Regions from separate parts of the Homo sapiens genome. Here regions 1, 2, 3 and 5 are each linked to region 4. Evidence: promoter capture Hi-C in 16 types of primary human blood cells and fetal thymus (Javierre and others, 2016). All regions are on one chromosome and are shown on one strand. The core of a region is centred on a gene start or on the middle of the fragment in contact, and the rest is flanking DNA. Distances in the headings are between cores, read along the strand shown. Region 1 has its middle 15 kb from the start of IQGAP1. Region 2 has its middle 5.5 kb from the start of ZNF774. Region 3 has its middle 33 kb from the start of NGRN. Region 4 holds the start of MAN2A2 (mannosidase alpha class 2A member 2). Region 5 has its middle 27 kb from the start of ZNF774.

Region 1 (2,765 bases), core at 18-2,517, 530 kb after region 4:
GAGGCCATGGCAGGAAGATTGCTTGAGCCCAGCAGTTGGATACCAGCCTGTGCAACATGGTGAGACACCATCTCTACAAAAAATAAAAAAAATTAGCTGGGCGTAGTGGTGCATGCCTGTGGCCCCAGCTACTGGGGAGGCTGAGGTGGGAAGATCACTTGAGCTGGGGAGGTCGAGGCTGCAGGGAGCTGTGATTGCACCACTGCGTTCCAGCCTGGGAGACAGAGCAAGAACTTGTCTCAAAAGAAAAAAAAAAAAAGAGCTAGACAAGGTGGCTCACTCCTGTAATCTCAGCACTTTGAGAGGCCGAGGCAGGTGGAACCCCTCAGGTCAGGAGGTCCAAACCAGTGTAGCCAACATGGTGAAATTCTGTCTCTACTAAAAATACAAAAATTAGCCAGGCATGGTGGCATGCATCTGTAGTCCCAGCTATTTGGGAAGCTGAGGCAGGAGAATTGCTTGAACCCGGGAGGCGGAGCTTGCAGCGAGCCAAGATCACACCACTGCACTCCAGCCTGGGCAACAGAGCAAGACTCTGTCTCAAAAAAATTTTAAAAAAATTAAAAAAAAAGACTAACACAGGAAAAAACGGGAGAGACATATAGCTATGGAGCAATGTTCCTCCCTAAGACTCCAGTCAGTTCATTGACACATGTCCAGTTTGAATTTTTTTTTTTTTTTAAAAGAAAGGCCAGGTTGTACCACCTTCCTTACAATACAGAAACAAGCTCTCTCAACCACAAGCATCAATGACATTATCCAGTTTCGTGGAATCACTGGCAATGCCCCCATGTATCAGAATGTCTTCTGTGGCTGAATTTACATGTGAAGGTTAATTAAACAAAGCTTTATTTCAGTATCATGGCTTGTTTGCATTTACTCATTCATGTACCAACTGGCATAAGTGATACCTCCTCCAGGGAGCCTTCCTTGACTCTCAAGATAGCCCTTCTCTGGCTGACATATACTTCTTGTATTGAAACTATGTGTCTGGGCCGGGCATGGTGGCTCACACCTGTAATCCCAGCACTTTGGGAGGCCGAGGCAGGCGGATCACCTGAGTTCAGGAGTTTGAGACCAGCCTGGCCAACATGGCAAAAGCCTGTCTCTACTAAAAATACAAAAATTAGGTGGGTGTGGTGGCGCATTACTGTAATCCCAGCTACTGGGGAGTCAGAGGCAGGAGAATCGCTTGAACCCAGGAGGTGGAGGTTGTGGTGAGCTGAGATCACCTCACTGCATTCCGGCCTGAAGGACAGAGTGAGACTCTGTCTCAAAAAAAAAAAAAAAAAGAAAAAAGAAAGAAAGAAACTGTGTGTCTGTATGTCTGTTTCCCACAACCACTCTGTGCTCCTCAAGAGAACTGTCATGTTTATACCTGTATCCCCAGCACCCTCAACTAGGCCTGGATATAAGAGGTAATGAGTGTTTACTGAATTAAATTGAATAAATTAGAGAGATACAATGTGGGGTTCGACGTGTGTCCATATATTCTGTTTGTAACATGCCTCTGACTCTGGAGAGGGAAGACAGGCTATGCTGGCACCTAGACTCAGGCTTAGGTGCTAACATTTAGATGCTTCAGGTTTCCTTCAGTTGAGCCCAAGTCACCTGGATAAGGAAATTTATGTATTTTTAGTACATAAGTGACAGATTCAGGGCAAACTCAGTAATAAAAGCAAGCTTCTGGCTTCAAGATCCCAAGAGATTTTCTCTTAAAGAGTTTGGGCTGGACGCAGTGGCTCAAGCCTGTAATCCCAGCACTTTGGGAGGCCGAGGCGGGCAGATCACGAGGTCAGGAGTTCAAAACCAGCCTGGCCAAAATGGTGAAACCCCACCTCTACTAAAAATACAAAAATTAGACCGGGTGTGGTGGCTCAGACCGGGCGCGGTGGCTCAGACCGGGCGCGGTGGCTCACGCCTGTAATCCCAGCACTTTGGGAGGCCGAGGAGGGCGGATCATCTGAGGTCAGGAGTTCGAGACCAGCCTGGCCAACATGGTGAAACCCCGTCTCTTCTAAAAATACAAAAATTAGCCGGGCATGGTGGCAGTTGCCTATAATCCCAGCTACTCGGGAGGCTGAGGCAGGAGAATTGCCTGAATACAGGAGGCGGAGGTTGCAGTGAGCCAAGATCATGCCACTGCATACCAGCCTGGGCAACAGAGCAAGACTCCATCTCAAAAAAAAAAAAAAAAGAATTTTATAGGCAACTAAAATGGGTGGGACCAACCTGCCATCCCAGCTACAGAGAGAAAAGCCAAACATTAGTGGACTGGGACCTTACTGTGGATGAAGAATCTAGTATCTGGGGCGGAAAGCAAGGTCCTCCCAGGAGAAGAGCAAGAAAGGAAGGTTGATGCTAGAGCCCGTGGAAGGGTCTTAAATTCTACATTAAACGAGATTCTACTTTCGTCTGTAGACAATAGGAAATGATTTAAGATTTTATAAGCAGGGGAGGAGTAGGATTTGATTCAACAAAGATTTATGAAATGTTTACTTTTGTACTAGTATGAACAAGGGCATAAAGTTGAGTTAAACATAGTCACTGCCCTTTAGACAAGTACACAAGTGACTGTAATGCAAGATGAAATAAGAAGTGAGTGAAACCCAAGATGTAGAAAGAAAGGATTATAGAAGTCCAAAGGAAATCCTATCTGCTTGATAGAGGAGATCTGGAAATACTTTATGGAGAGGGAGGTGTTTTAATGGGGCCTTGAAGAATAGGTACTTTATAAACAAAATTCCCTGAAGAGGCAACATGAA
Region 2 (2,700 bases), core at 114-2,613, 560 kb after region 4:
GTTGAGCATCTCTGTCTAACCTGCTCTTTCTCTCTGGTGCTCCTCATCTCACCCCTACCTTGGAATTTAATAAGCTTCAGGCATTTCCAATTGCAGACTAAAACCACTTCTACCATCTCCTCTAGTATTTTCCATGTATCAGGACAGAGATGTCTTATGTAGGGAAGGGGCAGGTATGAAGTGAGGTAGATTATCTATACCTCTCACTCATTCAGGATTCTCGCTCCCATGCTGCTGTCCCTTCATTCTCACACTCACAGGAATGCTATGTGATGGCCAGCTGCTTCCCTTCTTGGTTATCCACTGCAGCTGCTAGTTAGAAAGGTTTGCAGGGATGACTTTTAGTAAATCATGGGGATTTTATTGATTTATTATCACTTATAGGATTTTGTGGGGTGGGAGTGGGGAGCAGGAATTGCACTCAGACATGACATTTCAATTCATCTCTGCAAATGAAAAGGGTTCTTCCTCTTGGGGGAAATCTGTGTGTCAGTTCTGTCAGCTGCAAGTTCTTGTGTAATGAAGTCAATGCTGTCAGGCCAAGTGAAGGGAAAAGAGAGATCAGACTGTTACTGTGTCTATGTAGAAAGGAAAGACATAAGAGACTCCATTTTGAAAAAGACCTGTACTTTAAACAATTGCTTTGCTGAGATGTTGTTAATTTGTAGCTTTGCCCCAGCCACTTTGACCCAACCACTGTGACCCAACTTGGAGCTCACAAAAACATGTGTTGTATAAAATCAAGGTTTAAGTGATCCAGGGCTGTGCAGGACGTGCCTTGTTAACAAAATGTTTACAAGCAGTATACTTGGTGAAAGTCATCGCCATTCTCTAGTCTCAATAAGCCATGGGCACAATGTACTGTGGAAAGCTGCAGGGACCTCTGCCCTTGAAAGCGGGGTATTGTCCAAGTTTTCTCCCCGTGTGATAGTCTGAAATATGGCCTCGTGGGATGAGAAAGACCTGACTGTCCCCCAGCCCGACACCCGTAAAGGGTCTGTGCTGAGGTGGATTAGTAAAAGAGGAAAGCCTCTTGCAGTTGAGATAGAGGAAGGCCACTGTCTCCTGTCTGCCCCTGGGAACTGAATGTCTCGGTATAAAACCCGATTGTACATTTGTTCAATTCTGAGATAGGAGAAAAACCGCCCTATGGTGGGAGGCGAGATATGTTTGCAGTAATGCTGCCTTGTTATTCTTTACTCCGCTGAGATGTTTGGGTGGAGAGAAACATAAATCTGGCTTACGTGCACGTCCAGTCATAGTACATTCCCTTGAACTTAATTATGACATAGATTCCTTTGCTCACATGTTTTTTGCTGACCTTCTCCTTATTATCACCCTGCTCTCCTACTACATTCCTTTTTGCTGAAATAATGAAAATAATAATCAATAAAAACTGAGGGAACTCAGAGGCCGGTGCCAGTGCAGGTCCTTGGTGTGTTGAGTGCCGGTCCCCTGGGCCCACTGTTGTTTCTCTATACTTTGTCTCTGTGTCTTATTTGTTTTCTCAGTCTCTTGTCCCACCCGACTAGAAATACCCACAGGTGTGGAGGGGCAGGCCACCCCTTCACCAAGGAAATGAAATAATTGCTTACCTTAAAAAACAAAACAAAACATTTGCCAGGTGCAGTGGCTTATGCCTGTAATCCCAGCACTTTGGGAAGCTGAGGCAGGAGGATTGCTTGAGCCCAGGAGTTCAAGACCAGCCTGGGCAACATGGCAAGGCCTCGTCTCTACTAAAAATAAAAAAATCAGCTGGGTTTGGTGATGCGTACGTGTAGTCTCAGCTACCTGGGAAGCTGAGGTAAGAGGATCACTTGAGCCTGGGGAGATTGAGGCTGCAGTGAGCCAGGATGGCACCACTGCACTCTGGCCTGGAAGACAGAGTGAAACCCTGTCTCAAAAAAAATTATTTTATTTCTGTTGATTAGGAATCTGGAACAGCCTAGGTGAGTATCTCTAATTGAAGGTCTCTCACAAGGTTGCAGTCTAGACACTGGCTGGGACTACAGTTATCTGTAGGATTGACTGGGGCTGGATGATCAGCTTGCTCCCAAGCTCCCTCATGTGACTGTTTCCTCACGTGTAGCTTCTCCTCACAACGTGTCAGCTGGCTTCCCCAGGGTGAGTGATTGAGAGAAAGAAGCAGAAGCTGCAATCTAACCTTGGAAGTGATAGACCATCATTTCTGCCATACTCCTTTGGTCACACAGACCAACCCTGGTACAGTGTGGGAGGGGACTACACAAAGGTATGAATACTTGGAGGCAAGGATCACAGTGAGTGTATTAGTCTGGGTTCTCCAGAGAGAAAGAATCAATAGGATATATAGATATAGAGAACCAGGGAAGCCAGTAGTGTGAGTCAGTTTAAGTTCAAAGGCCCAAGAACTTGAGGGGCTGCTGGTGCAAGTCCTGAAGTCTGAAGGCTGAAGAACCTGGAGTTCTGATGTCTAACATCAGGAGAAGGGTGTCCCAGCTCAGAAGAGAGAGAGAGAAAATTCGCCTTTCCTCTGCCCTTTTGCACTATCTGGGCCCTCAGCTGAGTGGATGCTACCATCCACCCTGGGTGAGGGCAGATCTTCCTTATCAGTCTACTGATTTAAATGCCAGTCTCTTCCAAACACACTTACAGGCATAACTATAAAGCTTTCTCAGCTATCTGGGTATTCCTTAATCTAGTCAAGTTGACACCTGAAAC
Region 3 (2,861 bases), core at 154-2,653, 600 kb after region 4:
ACTCTAATGGTAAAGGGGTGACTGGGAAGGGGTGGCAGGGACATGGTGGGGGTGGAGCCTCTGGCCCCACTTCTCCAGGCTTTGCTGACAGGGGCCTGCTTTTGTTTTTATTTTTATCCCATGACTTTTTTTAATCACGTTTTTTCTGTAACTTTTTTTTTTTTTTTTTTTTTGAGATGGAGTCTTGCTCTGTTGCCCAGGCTGGAGTACAGTGGTGCCATCTGGGCTCACTGCAACCTCTGCCTTTCGGGTTCAAGCAATTCTCCTGCCTCAGCCTCCCGAATAGCTGGGATTACAGGCGCCCGCCACCACACCTGGCTAATTTTTTGTATTTTTAGTAGAGACAGGGTTTCACCATGTTGGCCAGGCTGGTCTTGAACTCCTGACCTCAGGTGATCTGCCCGCCTCAGCCTCCCAAAGTACTGGGATCCCAAAGTGGGTGGATCACCTGAGATAGGGAGTTTGAGACCAGCCTGACCAACATGGAGAAACCCATCTCTACTAAAAATACAAAATTAGCCAGGCGTGGTGGTGAATGCCTGTAATCCCAGCTACTTAGGAGGCTGAGGCAGGAGAATCTCTTGAACCTGGGAGGTGGAGGTTCCGGTGAGCTGAGATTGTGCCATTGCACTCCGGCCTGGGCAACAAGAACAAAACTCCGTCTCAAAAAAATAAAAATAAAAAAGTTTTGGAAATAAGTTGTGGGAAAAAAGTTATGGAAAAAGTTATGGAAAAATATTCCAAAAAAAGTTTTACGAAAAAAAGTTATGTGATAAATATTAAATAAATAAAAGCAGGCCACTTTCAGCAAAGCCTGGAGAAGTGTCTGATGGGGGAGACAGGTGAAGATGAGATGAAGATCGCGGTCATCCAAAAGCAGGGAACTAGGCCCAGGGCGGTAGCTCACACCTGTAAGCCCAGTGAGCCACTGACCATAACATTTTTTATCCCGTAACTTTTTTATCCCATAACGTAACTTTATCCCATAACTTTTTAATCTCATAACTTTTTAAATCTCATAACTTTTTTTAATCTCCTAACTTTTTAAAATCCCATAACTATTTTTTCAGTATGTGTTCTTTTGGTAAACACTTGCAGCCGGGCGCGGTGGCTCACGCCTGTAATCCCAGCACTTTGGGAGGCTGAGGTGGGCAGATCACGAGGTCAGGAGTTTGAGACCAGCCTGGCCAACATAGTGAAACCCCCATCTCTACTAAAAATACAAAAATTAGCTGGGCATGGTGGCGTGCACCTGTAGTCCCAGCTACTCGGGAGGCTGAGGCAGGAGAACTGCTTGAAACCAGGAGGTGGAGGTTGCAGTGAGCCGAGATCGTGCCACTGCACTCTGGCCTGGGCAACAGAGTGAAATTCCATCTCAAAATAAATAAATTAATTAATTAGTTAAATGCTTGCATAGTCATATTACAATTTTGTAAAAATAAAAACACTATTTCATGCCAAGCATGCCTGGCATTTGCACAATCTCAATACCTTTAATACTATAGTTTTCAAGACACACAAAATAAAAATTTAAGGCAAAAACAGCACTTTGCAACAATAATTTATTACATACAGTAGCATCACAGCAGTATTCAATAATGCCACTTTAGGCAAAAGTCTTTCAGTATTTCCATTATAGATTCTGTTTACAAGAATTCCTAAATTGGTAAGTCATTATAAGAAAACTTGGCAAATAAAGTTTTGGACTGGAATTGGCATTTCTTTCTTTACTTTTCCTTCCCCTAGTTTCTTTCTTTTAAGCTACAGTATTCATATTTTAAAATGTTTTAATTTATTTCAAAACATTAAAATAGCAGTTACATTTTTTAATAGTTATACTATTGTAAAATGACTAAGAAAGTTTTAGAGAAACTATATTCTGGATAAGGCTGATTTACATTTTCAAATTTTCTAGAAATCAGCTTTGGTTTTAACATTAGTTTTTCAGTTCTGGAAAACCTATTAGTATTAATCAAATACTTCAAAATGATTATCATATACTGCAACCTTTAAATAAACAAGTATTTTGATTCTTTACCTCCTACAGAAATTCAAATTTATTCGGTTGAACTCACATTTTAAAATTCTATGTTTCCATGAACTCTAACCTTCTAATGTTGCCTGCTAAGCAAATTGAAAGCTGTCTTATACTGAATGAGAAAGAGAACAAATATCTGGCTGAATGAGGTATTGCAAAAGACTGCATGCCCTTTGAAGAAAGACTTAAGTTATTATAATATGATTTCCATCCTTGTTAGCTTTTTCTTAAATATATGACAAAAATACCTACACAAAAAGTAGTATCTCAGTTAATATAGTAAATTTATTTCCAGACAGACATTCAGCTTAAGTATGCCGGTATGTGAGTTAATCCAGAGGTACCTGATGAACACATTATTGTCAGATTGATTACAGATGCTAAACGCTATCCGAAGGTCATTCCTAGTCATTTACATTTATCAATGTAAAAGTGAAGTGATTTGAACTATTAAAATACCTTTGAAATAATTTATCAATGTATCAGATAAACCCAGTTTCAGAATGATAAAGAAAAACTGTTAGACCAAATAATGTGGCTAATTGACAGTGGTACGATTTCTAGCCCGAGGGTTTAAAATGGACTTAAAGTAACTGTCTTTAAACTGAACTCAAAGAATGCAAAAGCAGCAAGTTCAGAAAATAAAAGGCAACAACAGGACCTTAAGTCCATTTTAAACCCTCGGGCTAGAAATCGTACCACTGTTAATTAGCCACATTATTTGGTCTAACAGTTTATCATTCTGAAACTAGGTTTATCTAATACATTAATAAATTCATACAATTTGGAAGAGTCAGTTGAAGTCACAAGGACCCAATATTTG
Region 4 (2,872 bases), core at 359-2,858:
CAAGAATTCAGGAGGGGCTGGGCGCGGTGGCCCACACCTGTAATCCCAGCACTTTGGGAGGCCAAGGTGGGTGGATCACCTGAGGTCAGGAGTTCAAGACCAGCCTGGCCAACATGGCGATACCTCGTCTCGTCTCTACTAAAAATACAAAAATTAGTCGGGCATGGTGGCAGGCTCCTGTAGTCCCAGCTACTTGGGAGGCTGAGGCAGGAGAATTGCTTGAACCTGGGAGGCGGAGGTTGCAGTGAGCCAAGATCGCGCCACTGCACTCAAGGCTGGGCGACAGAGCGAGACTCTGTCTCAAAAAAAAAAAAAAGAAAGAAAAGAATTCAGGAGAACAGAGTGACAATACTCATTGCCATTGACATTTTTTCTTCCTTCCTTCTTTTCGCCATCACTGTTTTTAGCTGAGGGTTTCTACAAAACCTGACTATTGGGAAGGAAGGCTCCTGTCCTGTACTGACATTACCCTCCAGCGGGGGGTGGGAGGGGAGGCGGCGGGGTGGGAGGTGCATACCCTGAGCCCAGGTGACTTGTATACAAAGAAATTAGCAACCAGGCACGACTCACCCGGGGGAAGTTCCCACCATTCTGGTGTCGGGTGGGATCGTGTTGCACTCGGTCCAGCATGAGGTAGAGCGAGAAGACTGCCACACAGAAGATGGCAGCCCCACACACTGTCACCTGCTTTTTCAGCTTCATACTGGCCTCCACACACACCTGGCAGGAAGGACACCATCTGTAGCTCCAACATGCAAAATGCCCGTGGCAGTCTTTCCACCAAATACCCCAGTGAGTTCCTGAGGGCTGTTCCAAAGGAACACCCATTTGCCTGGCTCCAAGTAGCACAAGCAGCACATCTGAGGCTGGCCCACCTGGTCCTGGTAGCAGCTCTGCCGCTAGGGTGGAGAGGACGCTCTCCTTTGGCTGGTGCTATGAAAAACGGGCCCAGGATAAGAGTCCCAGCTCCGACTGGAGCGCACCACACAAGCTCCTGATTACACAGCTTCCCTGCCTAGATAGGAGGTGCCTGTTCAGGCTCCTCGGCCATGTGCTTCTAGTTTCAGGTGAATAAGCTAGTCTCTATTTTGTTTGATTTAAAAGTTTAGCCAGAACCCAAAGAGACTGATAGGAAAGCCTTTCTCAGTGCCCTTTCGGGTCAAACTGGCACTCACCAGAAACAGTGCCTGGCACGATCCTTTCTCAGAAACACAGAATGAGTTTCTTTCTAATAAAGAAGAAAGATGCTTGTGTTTCTAGCATAAAGCAAGCCCTGTGTGTTCTCCCTGTTTCTCTACTGTTCACTGCAGTGGGAAACTTCCAGCCGCGGTTTGCAGAGCACTTAGGGGACCCCTAGGAAGCCTGCAGTGACGCCGAAGGCCCCCTGGGAAGGGAGAGACGGGGCCCAGTGCTCAGCTGCGAGGCAACTTCAGGGGACCCGTGCCCCCCGCCGCCACCGCCCTCGGGCTCCGCTTGCCTGCTCAGGAGGAAGGAGGACGCTAACTGCGGAGCCGAGCGTGGGCGGGACCGCGCTCCGGAGTCTGCTCCGCGGGCCCTGGGGCCGAGGAGCTTTGTCGCCTCTGCGTTGTGCCCTACTTAGCGCGATCTGATTCTGCTCGGGAGCTTCCGGGCAATATTTTCAGCCCTTAGAGACTGGGTCTAGGCCAATGTGGGTGGAGCTGGGGAGAGAGTTGGATCACAGAGGGCAGGCACCTGCCGCCAGGTCTCTGGCCGCCCGCCCGGCTCCCTCCCCACCCGCTCCGACTTCGTCGGCCCCGGGGACCGCAGAGACAGGCGCCAGGTACGGGCCTCAGGCAGCCTCCTGTCCCTTCCTGGCCCCTCTGACGCCGCAGTGGCGCTCGCACTCCCGCCGCCCGAGCCCGGCCTCTGTCGGGGCAGCCGGAGCCCTCCCGCGCGCGCACCCGGCCCGTTACCGTCAGCGCCCGGCCTCCGCGCCGCTCCGGGCCCAGTCGGCCGAGCTGCCGGCTCTCACACGCCCGGGGACGGCGGCCCGCGTGCAGGCAGCGACGCAGGCGAAGGCGGGCGCCCGCCCACCCGTAGCCCCCTGCTCCGCGCGCCGCTGCCGCGCTCCCGCTGGGCCCCGGGCCGCCGGCGCGCTCCGCTGCGCCGGCCCCGCGCGGGTCCGCCAGCCTCTGAAGCTGCCGGGCCCAGCAGCGTGCGGGGCGGGGACAGCCGCGCCGCCCGCCCCGGCCTGCGTGTGCCCGGCGGAGCTGACAGGAGCTCTGGCCGCCGCGGTCCCCGCCCGGCTCCTCCCGGGCCCGCTCCGCTGGGCTGCAGTGCGCAGCCGCACCAGCCCGGGCCGGGCCTGGCCAGCTGCGGAACCTCAGGAGGGACGCGCGACTGAATTTTTTCGGAATCCTACTTGAGTAAGCGCATGATCGGGCAGTGGTCGAAACGCCCGCCTCCGTCTCGGCAGACGCGTAGCGGGGTGCGTTCTCCGCGGCCTCACCCGGCTCCGGCCCAGGTAGCCTTAGGTCTCTGTCGTTGCGCCCCTCGGGCAAAGGGGTGCTGCCTCCTGTCGGTACAGCGCATTCCTCGAGTCCCTTTCCTTTCCGTGCCTGCTCTATGTTTCCTGCCAGCGAGTGAACAAGACACAGACTTTTCTTGGCTGTTTCCCTTTTACTGGGCATCTAGGTTGTTTACAGTTTTTCAGTGTAATCCATACTGCAATGAACATCTCCATGAATTCCACATTTTTGTTCTTTTTAAGTTATATATAACATTATCTGAATGTGACCCCCCAAATTCATGTTCAAATCCTAATCCCTCAAGGTGATGATGGTATTAGGAGATGGGCCTTTGGGGGTGAACAGAGTTTGAAGGGAGAGCTCTCATGAATGGGATTAGTGCC
Region 5 (2,710 bases), core at 73-2,572, 580 kb after region 4:
GGGCTCAATTCCTGGTGCTGATTGTAATGCTACTTTGGGAAGCTAAGGAAGGGGGATTGCTTGAACCCAGGAGTCAAGGCTGTAGTGAGCCATGATTGTGCCACTGCACTCCAGCCTGGGTGACAGAGCAAGACCTTGTTTCAAAAAAAAAAAAAAAGGAAGAAATGATTACAACCATCGATTAGTCATTAGTGCCATGCCTTAGCTGAGAACTTCTTCTCTGGGCCATTCTGCAGCCCTCTGGAATGGCTTTAGGACCTGGCTACCAGGCTCCCCTTATCCCAGTGTCTTGCTCTCATCCTCAGTGGCTTCAGCATACTTATTTATTTTATTATTTTTTTTGGTGGGGGGACGGAGTTTCGCTATTGTCGCCCAGGCTGGAGTCCAATGGCACGATCTCAGCTTGCTGCAACCTCCGTGTCCCGGGTTCAAGTGATTCTCCTGCCTCAGCCCCCTGAGTAGTTGGGATTATAGGTGCCCGCCACACACCCAGCTAATTTTTTGTATTTTTAGTAGAGATGGGGTTTCACCACGTTGGCCAGGCTGGTCTAGAACTCCTGACCTCAAGTGATCCACCTGCCGTGGCCTCCTGAAGTGCTGGGATTACAGGTGTGAGCCACCGTGCCCGGCCTCATCCTTATTAATTACAGCACCACCACCTGTGCTCATGGTCCCTTTACCTCCTCTGCTCCAGTAACCTCGAAAGGCCAGCCACATCACAGAGCTGCTTCCATTTCAGCCTCTCAACTCCATCTCTCCTTTTCCCTTAGAATAACTGGGGCTGCCCATTATCCTTGCCACAGCCTCCTCTGCTTCCTTGCTTATTGTTCCTTTTCTACCTCCTCCCTCAGTCTGGACTCCACGGTCGGCTCTTCAACCATGTTCCTGCTAGTGGCTTACGGTTCCTGTTCTCCAACTTTCTAATCTACCTACTGTGTCATCCCCAAGCAGGGGATTCCCTGCCATCTACTTCTGCAACTCTCAGGCTGGCAGAAGTGGCCTCCATGCTGCCCAGTCAGAAGGGCCTGTGTGGCCAACACAGCTGCCGCCCCAGTTCCATCCTTCATTCTCTTTCCTTCCAGTTGTCCAGGCCTTGCCATCTGACTGGCCTGGAGAGTAGGGAAGAGATGGGGAAAACAAAGGAGGGGTGCAAACATCTGGAGCTCAGTGCCCTGGTCTGCTCAGCCTGGGGGAGATTCTCCTCCCTCCTCTTCCTCCCCTGCTCTGTTCCTTCACCTTCTTCCGCCTTGAGGACTCCCTGATTCCCTTATATATCCATGAAAACTTTTACATCACTAAATAAATTGCCTTTTTTTTTTTAAATGAAGTCTCTCTCTGTTGCCCAGGCTGAAGGGCAGTGGCATGATCTCGGCTCACTGCAACCTCCGCCTCTTGGGTTCAAGTGATTCTCCCACCTCAACCTCCCGAGTAGCTGGGATTACAGGCGTGCGCTACCATGCCTGGTTGACTTTTTTTTTTTTTTTTTTTTTTTGGATTTTTAGTAGAAACAGGGTTTTACCATGTTGGCCAGTCTGGTCTCAAACTCTTGACCTCAAGAGATCTGCCCACCTGGGCCTCCCAAAGTGCTGGGATTACAGGTGTGAGCCACCATGCCCCAGTGAAATTGCTTAATTTCACAAACATTTTGAGAGTCAACTGGGAACTGTCAACCTAGAAGGAAGCTGAAGCAAAATTAATATAAGTAGAGAATTTATCTGGGGCTGGGCATAGTGGTACACTCCTGTAATCGAGGATTCTGGGAGGCTGAGTTGGGAGGATTGCTTGCCAGGAGTTTGAGAACAGCCTGGGCAGCATAGTGAAACCCCATCTGTACAAAAAATTTAAAAATTAGCCAGGCATGGTGGCTCATGTCTGTAGTCCCAGCTACTCAGGAGGCTGAAGCAGGAGGATTGCTTGAGCCCAGGAGTTCGAGGTTATGGTGAGCTAAGATCCTGCCACTGCACTCCAGTCTGGGCAACAGGAGCAAGACCTTTTCTCTTAAAAAAAAATAAATAACAATAGTAAGACAGAGGATCTATTTGGGCCAAGCTAGATATTGCAAACTGGGAGCATAGAGTCAAGTTACCCTCAGTATACATCCTGATTAGCAGCAGTTGTGAGGCAGGAGGCAGGCCTGTACTCCAGGCCAGATTGAAGACTAGCTGAAACAGGGAAGAGGGGAAAGCACCTCTCCATAACACATGCCCACCAGTGCCATGTCAGTTTACCAGTGCCCTGGCAACACCCAGAAGTTACTGCCCCTTTCCATGGCAACAACCTGGGAGTTATACCCTTTTCCTAGAAATTTCTGAAAAACCCATCCCTTAATTTGCATGTAATTAAAAGTGGGTATAAATATGACTGTGGAACTGCCCCTTAGCTGCTACTCTCCACACACTGACTATGGGCTAGCTCTTCCTGCAGGAGCAGTTACAGAGCGGTAACACTGCTGCCTCAATAAAACTGGTTTTGGTGGCGGGGCGTGGTGGCTCACACCTGTAATCCCAGCACTTTGGGAGGCCGAGGTGGGTGAATCACCTGAGGTCAGGAGTTCAAGACAAGCCTGACCAACATGGTGAAAATACAAAATACAAAAATTACTAAATTATTATTATTACTAAAAATAATAGCCTCCCAAGTAGCTGGGATTACAGGCATGCACCACCACCCCCTGCTAATTTTGTCTTTTTAGTAGAGACGGGGATTTCAC

The links. Contacts are between HindIII fragments. The CHiCAGO score rates a contact against its expected background, and 5 or more counts as called.
Region 1: a contact is called between a fragment that was not itself captured here and the fragment with the promoter of MAN2A2 in region 4, in 1 of 17 cell types (naive B cells). The highest score is 5.1, in naive B cells.
Region 2: a contact is called between a fragment that was not itself captured here and the fragment with the promoter of MAN2A2 in region 4, in 1 of 17 cell types (activated CD4 T cells). The highest score is 5.8, in activated CD4 T cells.
Region 3: a contact is called between a fragment that was not itself captured here and the fragment with the promoter of MAN2A2 in region 4, in 1 of 17 cell types (activated CD4 T cells). The highest score is 6.5, in activated CD4 T cells.
Region 5: a contact is called between a fragment that was not itself captured here and the fragment with the promoter of MAN2A2 in region 4, in 9 of 17 cell types (total B cells, erythroblasts, activated CD4 T cells and 6 more). The highest score is 8.8, in total B cells.

Annotation. Positions count from the first base shown.
Region 1 is chr15:90,372,076-90,374,840 of GRCh38, reverse strand. No RefSeq gene overlaps it. Among named protein-coding and RNA genes, the nearest start is that of IQGAP1, 15 kb to the left of the region's middle. The HindIII fragment of the contact is 837 bases long and covers 849-1,685 here.
Region 2 is chr15:90,345,431-90,348,130 of GRCh38, reverse strand. It overlaps the pseudogene GABARAPL3. Among named protein-coding and RNA genes, the nearest start is that of ZNF774, 5.5 kb to the left of the region's middle. The HindIII fragment of the contact is 2,574 bases long and covers 77-2,650 here.
Region 3 is chr15:90,297,587-90,300,447 of GRCh38, reverse strand. It overlaps the pseudogene GOLGA2P8. Among named protein-coding and RNA genes, the nearest start is that of NGRN, 33 kb to the right of the region's middle. RefSeq lists a silencer at 135-327. The HindIII fragment of the contact is 8,093 bases long and covers 1-2,861 here.
Region 4 is chr15:90,902,038-90,904,909 of GRCh38, reverse strand. It overlaps MAN2A2 (mannosidase alpha class 2A member 2), which reads right to left and starts at 1,608. Exons shown (of 23, transcript NM_006122.4): 1 at 1,478-1,608; 2 at 571-720. The coding sequence starts at 702. RefSeq lists enhancers at 618-677, 2,518-2,567 and silencers at 1,628-2,057, 2,078-2,347. The HindIII fragment of the contact is 23,300 bases long and covers 1-2,872 here.
Region 5 is chr15:90,324,120-90,326,829 of GRCh38, reverse strand. No RefSeq gene overlaps it. Among named protein-coding and RNA genes, the nearest start is that of ZNF774, 27 kb to the left of the region's middle. The HindIII fragment of the contact is 8,593 bases long and covers 1-2,710 here.